Regions from separate parts of the Homo sapiens genome. Here region 1 is linked to region 2. Evidence: promoter capture Hi-C in human tissues and cell types (Jung and others, 2019). All regions are on one chromosome and are shown on one strand. Each heading gives the region's core, a stretch centred on a gene start or on the middle of the fragment in contact. The rest is flanking DNA. Distances are from core to core; before and after follow the strand shown.

Region 1 (3,550 bases), core at 888-3,387, 1.0 Mb before region 2:
CTCATGCCTGTAATCCTAGCACTTTAGGAGGCTGAGGCGGGCAGATCACTTGAGGCCAGGAGTTAAAGAGCCTGGGTAACAGGGTGAAACCCCGTCTCTACAAAAATTCAAAAAAAAAAAAAAAATTAGCTGGGTGTGGTGGCGCACACCTGTATTCCCAGCTACTTGGGAGGTTGAGGCAGGAGAATCACTTGAGCCCAGGAGGTGGAGGCTGCAGTGAGCCAAGATCGTGCTACTGCACTCCAGCCTGGGCTACAGGGAGACTGTCTCAAAAAAAAAAAGAAAGAAAAAAAAAGTTAAACTAGCAACTGGCCCTTGTCAACCCCATTTTCATCCATGAAAACGTTAGGATTATAGGATAAGCCCATGCAACAGCCACTGACAATTCTTGGTAAAAAAAACTGATGCAAATGGTCCACACCACTTTTGAAAATAAATATAAAAGTCCTCAAAAAATGGCAGATGGTTCAAGACTTCAGTTTCTCAAAGACAGAAATTTTTGTCTGTTCCACCATTCTCTTTTGCCTCTCCCAAACAAGTGATACATATCTATATTATGACAATATTTCAACCAAACTTTTTTAACGAACACTTCAGGGTTTCATCATAACCTTTACTTCTACTTTAAAACAGCATAAGAAACTATAATTACAGCTGTTTGACAGCTGGGGAAACTGTGACATACAAAGATGAAGTAATGTGCCCAACGTCTGAGTCACTGGCAAATTGAAACACATGTCCTACTCAACTCTTTTATATTCTCTAGCAGCTATTTCCTTTCCTCCTGACATTAGCAAAACAAGCTGACACCATGTAGGTAAAGGTAACCACAAATTTTTTATCAAAGTAGGAAATTTAGGCCGGGCGCAATGGCTCAGGCCTGTAATCCCAGCACTCCGGGAGGCCGAGGTGGGTGGATCACCTGAGGTCAGGAGTTCGAAACCAGCCTGGCCAATATGGTGAAACTGCCATCTCTACTAAATATACAAAAATTAGCCGAGCGTGGTGGCGCACGCCTGTAATCCCAGCTACTCGGGAGGCTGAGGCAGGAGAATCGCTTGAACCCAGGAGACAGAGGTTGCAGTGAGCCGAGATCGCACCACTGCACTTCAACCTGGGCGATAAAGCGAGACTCTGTCTCAAAACAAAAGAAAACCAATAAGCTCCTCCCCTCAACCCCAATTTCTTCAGCTGCTGAAACATTTTCTTTCCACTGCGATCCCCTAAGATTACTGTAGCTATTTCTCCCCAGAGAAAGGAGACAATTCCACTCTGTCTTCTAATCCAGAATCCCTTTTCTCTTTAAACAGGTTATCTCTTTCCAATACCTTGCTTTCTGATGACAGCAACTTCCCAAGACTTCCCCAGATAGTCCCCACAGGCTCTAGAAGCAACCGCCACTTTTCTCTAAACACCAATTGCGGCCCTTGGTTCCCAGCCCCCGTCCCCGGAGTCCGTGCTCTCCTCCCCACTACCCTACCCCACCGCTGCCTCAGGCCCTACCCCCGCGGCGTCGGCAGCTCTGGCTCACCTCGGCCCCTGACAGGAAGGGGTGCGAAGGCCCTGTGATCGTCAGGTAATTGTCATTTCCTCCGGGAAACTGGAAACCAAAAGAAAGTCGCGGGGATAAGTTAGGGGGAGCAGGGAGTCAGCTTGGAGCGATGGCTTTTGACCCTGACATTCTGACAACACTCCCCAAACCCCGCTCTCTCTCCTCTCCCGTCAGTCGCCTCTCCGCCCGGCTTCCCGTCCCTGCTTCAACCCGGTCGGCCGCGTTCTCTCGCCAGCCTTCTTAGCTATCAGGTTCCTACCTCCATCTTCACACAACCGCTCCCACCGTCTCAGACCCTCATCGCTCCCACCGCCCCCACTGGACTCGGAACTGCCGTCACTTCCGCAAGGACGTGTGTTCTCTCTGCTGATTGGAAGGAGCGCCGTGGGGCTGCAGAGAGTCAGGCGCTGGGCTATCGCCCCCTGGAGTTTGGAGGGATAAGGGCATGTAGAAGTGCTAGAAGCGTCCCTGGAGGTGGCGTAGGGTACTCCCGACCTAAGGATGATTCCGGGGAGTGCAATAGAGACGTGATCTGGGCTAGAGGAGCCGGAGGGGCGGGGGAGCGGGGGGAAGGGGGAGAAGAAGAAGATCGGTAGATTGAGTGGCTAGAGAGGTCGGAGGTAAGTGGCTATAGAAGTCGGGCGGACCCGGAACCCAGAGGACGCGACACCATGACTTATGCTTATCTCTTCAAGTATATCATCATCGGAGACACAGGTAACCCTCAGGTGGTTCGCCTTCAAGGCTCGGGCGGGCATTCGAAGCTCCCAAATTGGGTGGCGGGGGCGGGGCTCACTTTGTGGGCTGGGCGATTCGAGACGGGCGGGGCGGTTCGGGGCGGCCGGGGGCGGGGCTCGGGAGCCCCCCTTCTCTGGTCCGGGAAGTCCATACTCTGGAAGGTGTTCCAGGGCTGCGTGATTCCGGGAGTGTGCTTTCTCTTTCAGGTGTGGGGAAGTCATGTCTCCTCCTGCAGTTTACAGATAAGCGGTTCCAGCCTGTCCACGACCTCACAATAGGTAAGTGCATCTACTTGTTCCAGAACAGATGATAAAACCTGACTAGCTAAATTGCTAAAGTGGAAAGTTAGCAGCCTTCAGTGTTCGAAGTAAAAAGTTACCCCTCACTACTTTAAACTAGTCCAAACTTATGTTAATGAAGTGACCAATGAAACGTTGATATGTGGGGAGTAGTGTAAGGGAGAGTATATAATTGAAAGGTAACTTTTTAGAGTGTGAGGTATAGACTCGTCATATAATTTTTTTTCAAATACAATTTGTATGTTTATGGAAAATCCCACGAAAGCATAACTGCTTATTTATGAACTCATCTGTGCTTTGAGGTAAATTAATACCAGCCTTACTTTTAAAAAGTAAACACCAATACATGGACATTTTTTATATTGGTGAAGAAGCAAATTGAGGAGTCATCCCTGCCTTAGAATTAATAGGCAAATAAAACTAAAAACTTTCCTTTTAAATGAAAGAGTGTGTTAACAGTTCCTCAAACGCACTGGCGATCCTGGAAAATATTAACCTTTCCCACACGTTTGTGATAAGGCATGGCCTGAAGAGGCTTTTAACTACCCCCTCTTCGTTATCTCCGTAACCCCAGTCCAAATAAACAACATATATGAAACTAGCTTTCTTGCCATGCAAATGCAGTTTCTAAATAAACCCCTACATCCCCATTCTTACCATATTGCTACTTCCAAGTCCCACCTGTATGGAAACCTGAAGCTACCACTGTTCCTAACGGATTTATTTAGAGTCAAATAATTGATGGGGTTAGAAAAGGATTTGGCAGTATCAACTAAAAGGTATTTTAAAGGGAATATTGAGCGAATTCTCACTTTGCGATAGGGGCTAATGATACAATGCTTAACAAGGCAACAATGCTTAATTGTGCCTCTGGCAATTATTGGAAATGTAAAATGTATTGTTAAAAAAATTAGGTGGGCGTTGTGGCGTGTGCCTGTAAGGTACTTACTTGGGAGGCTGA
Region 2 (3,510 bases), core at 812-3,311:
CTCCAGCCTGGTGACAGAGTGAGACCCTATAAAAAACACACACACACACACACACAAAACCCCCACAAAAAACAGATTCTGAAGCCCATGTAATTTTGATTTTAAAACCAGGTTTAGGGGCTGGGCGCGGTGGCTCATGCCTGTAACCCCAGCACTTTGGGAGGCCGAGGTGGGCGGATCACGAGGTCAGGAGATCGAGACCATCCTGGCTAACATGTTGAAACCCCGTCTCTACTAAAAATACAAAAAAAAAAAAAAAAAAAAAAAAATTAGCCGGGCGTGGTGGCGGGCCCCTGTAGTCCTAGCTACACGGGAGGCTGAGGCAGTAGAATGGTGTGAACCCGGGAGGCAGAGGTTGCAGTGAGCCAAGATCGCTCCACTGAACTCCAGCCTGGGAGACAGAGCGAGACTCCGACTCCAAAATAAATAAATAAAAATAAAATAAAATAAAACCAGGTTTAGGAATTGCTGGTCTGGAGGGAAGCAGAATTCGACCTAGATTCTAGTCCCAATATTGTCTTTTTAGGCATGTAATTTGTGCTTTAAATTATTTTCTCAGGTATAAACAAGGGATGTAAATTGGCCCCATCTATCTTATAGGCTCAATCTGAAAATGAATTGAATACTTGCTAACAACTTCCAAAGACCTATGGCTCTGTTACACAAAGTATTTGAATCTTTCTCCTGCTTTCCACCTGCCTGTGGTCTTCTTCCTGTCCTTCCCCCTCCCTGCCTCCTCCCAGTTTCCTTTCTCTCCACCGAGGATCTTTGCTCTTCAGAAACCTCAGGGCACTTACCCAGAACCCCTACACTAGCAAGAATCAACCCGTGTTACTTTTCTCCCAGTTCCAAGTCCAGTTCTCTCACATCCATCTGGGAAGACCAAACGTTGCTTTCAGAGGTGGCAATGAGGTGTGACAGAGCTGAACACAACTAACCAAGCTTTCACAGGAAATTTTTTACTTGGAAAGCAGAGCCCGGGAAACCAGACATGATTGCACAATACACCAGGCTACCCTCAGGGAAGCAGTTGGATCAGGTAGGTTGGGGGCTGGTCAACGGAGCCACAGGACAATGGAGAGAAGCAATTAAGCTGGTAAAATGTTAATCAAATGGCATCCCCAAAAGGTGCAAAGGAAATGAATGTGTGAAGCTGCCGCCACATGGCATGTCTAGCCACATCTCACAGCACTTCCTCATTGGCTATCAGTCCCCTCAAGAACACCCTGGCTCCCTGGGCATCCAAAAGCAACTGTGATGCCTAATGCAGGTCACTTGGACTGGGATATCCAGGACCCAAGCCGAGAGAAGAGTTTTCAAAGGCGTGGGGTGGGGGAAGTGAGCACAGGACTGTTGCTCAGTTCGGTGACTGATTTCCGTCTCCACTTAGCAGTCACTTCCCACCGAGTTAATCATACTGCCAGTCTGGAAGGAAGGGAGGAGTGCAACTGGCAAAGGAGGTGAGTAATCTTGCCTCTAAAGGAGGAACTCCGAATTTGAGCACCAAAAGTACCTCGCAGCTTTACCCAGACCCTAGCATGGGAATTTATGAAGAGCGCAGGGGGTGAGGAGACCTCCTCCTGGTATGGAGTGAGGGATATATACATATACTCACTCTCCACTTGTTCCCCTAACACACACACGGAGACACACAACGGCTGCTTTTACGGAGTAGCTTAGACCGCACCGACCTGTCCCCTTCCTGCTCCGGTGGCGCCACCCCAGCTCGATTCCCGCGTGCGTCCCTGCCCGCGCTGGCTGCCGCATGACTCTGCCGCCTTGCTCCCGACACTAGGCTCAGTGCCAGGCCTCTCTGCATCCCCTGGGCGCTCGCTCCCTCCGCCAGCTCCCTCTGGGCCCAGTGTGCCAGGTTCCCGGGTCACAGCACCTGCCCCTCCCCAAGGGTCCTGCGGGCCTGGTGCCCTCCTCACCCGTTCTCCATGGTCTCGCAGACGCCTTCTCGATGAGCCTGCTCCGGTGTGCTCCGATCCGCTCCGATCCGATCGGATCCGCTCCGCTATGCTGAACTGAGCAAGGCTGCCGGGTCTGGTTCGCACAGTTGGCTCACTGGTCTAGGCTCTGGCTTATATCCCTTGCCCTGGAGTCCCCAGCCAATGGCAAGCGAGCACGCGGGCCGGCCCTGTCTCCATGGTGACACACCCTAATTCAATCGGCTGAACCTGGGCTGTAAACCTAATCAGAGTTCTTCCCAGCCCTAAACCTTCTGCCCCGGGGCGGGCGGGGGGAGCCGGAGCGCACCCAGCATTTCATCTCGGTACCCATTCCAGTCCGCAGGGCAGGAGTTCCCAGCAAGAAGGCCTATGCGGAAATAGGGCTAGAAGTAGGGAGGAGAGCCCCCAGCCCTCTCCTTGCAACCTCATTCCAGCTGTGTCAATAGCAAACCGTGAGAGATTCAAAAAGGAAAAATTTCATACCTTAGATTGTACAACCCCAGAATAAAAATGAAGCGAGACTGTGTCTGAGTTGCTCCCTGGACAAGGGAAGCTGGGTCGCCCCCGGCAACAGTGCTAACTTGGAGGATACAGGGTTTAGGAGAGCACATCCAGGCCCAGACCGGGAGAAGAAAAAGTTCTCAGGCAAGAATTCCGGGGTCCTAGATGCCGACAGAAAGGATAAGGATGGATTTGGTGGGTAGGGACACAGATAATCCCTTGATCTGCGCAATATTGATCCAAGCAATTCAGGTAACTAGAGGACTCCTCCCACGAAGAAAATTCTGTTATCGGAATACACGGGTACCAGAATATAACATAAATAGCGTGTCTTTGGTAGAATACAACTATTACTTCTGCCCACATTTACAATTTAATTTTTACATTTAATTTACATTTTTACATTAAATTTACATTTAATTTTTAATTTAAAAAATTAAAAAAAAATTTATATATAAAGGCCAGGCGCGGTGGCTCACGCCGGTAATCCCAGCACTTTGGGAGGCCGAGGTGGGTGGATCACCTGAGGTCAGGTGTCGGAGACCAGCCTGGCCAACAAGGCAAAACCCCATCTGTACTAAAAATACAAAAAATTAGCTGGGCGTGGTGGCAGGCGCCTGTAATCCCAGCTACTTGGGAGGCTGAGGCAGGGAGAATGGCTTGAACCCGGGAGGTGGAGGTTGCAGTGACCTGAGATCACACCATTGCACTCCAGCCTGGGCAACAGAGTGAGTAGCTGGTTCCTGAGAACTTACTAGCACTTTGAAAATAACAATGCACACAAATTGAAAAAAAAATTTCGTTCTTAAATAACCACAAACAGTTACTTACGGGATATGTACATCTGTTTGGCACTACTCAACTTCTCACATGCAGGAATCCAATGCTGCCACCCTCATTTTCTGTTCCATGCTGATTTTTACACAGTACTTTTTTTTTTTACTTAATACTTAATTTTTATCAGAGGGACCTTCTAAAACCATCTTTTGTAAAGATATGTTGTCTTTATATATATATATATTTTTGAGACAGGGTTTCACTCTGTAACCCAGGCTGG

What was found. Contacts are between HindIII fragments. The study calls those that stand out against the background at their distance.
Region 1: the fragment with the promoter of RAB2B here is called in contact with the fragment with the promoter of PNP in region 2 in 1 of the 25 tissues and cell types used here (stomach).

What each region holds. Positions count from the first base shown.
Region 1 is chr14:21,475,546-21,479,095 of GRCh38, reverse strand. It overlaps RAB2B (RAB2B, member RAS oncogene family), which reads left to right and starts at 2,137. Exons shown (of 8, transcript NM_032846.4): 1 at 2,137-2,269; 2 at 2,497-2,568. The coding sequence starts at 2,224. TOX4 (TOX high mobility group box family member 4) reads right to left here and starts at 1,901. Exons shown (of 9, transcript NM_014828.4): 1 at 1,812-1,901; 2 at 1,532-1,600. The coding sequence starts at 1,817. RefSeq lists enhancers at 1,951-2,020, 2,601-2,720. The HindIII fragment of the contact is 11,571 bases long and covers 1-3,550 here.
Region 2 is chr14:20,467,957-20,471,466 of GRCh38, reverse strand. PNP (purine nucleoside phosphorylase) reads right to left here and starts at 2,061. Exons shown (of 6, transcript NM_000270.4): 1 at 1,932-2,061. The coding sequence starts at 1,942. RefSeq lists enhancers at 1,370-1,499, 1,530-1,599, 1,790-2,294 and a silencer at 2,010-2,129. The HindIII fragment of the contact is 8,414 bases long and covers 460-3,510 here.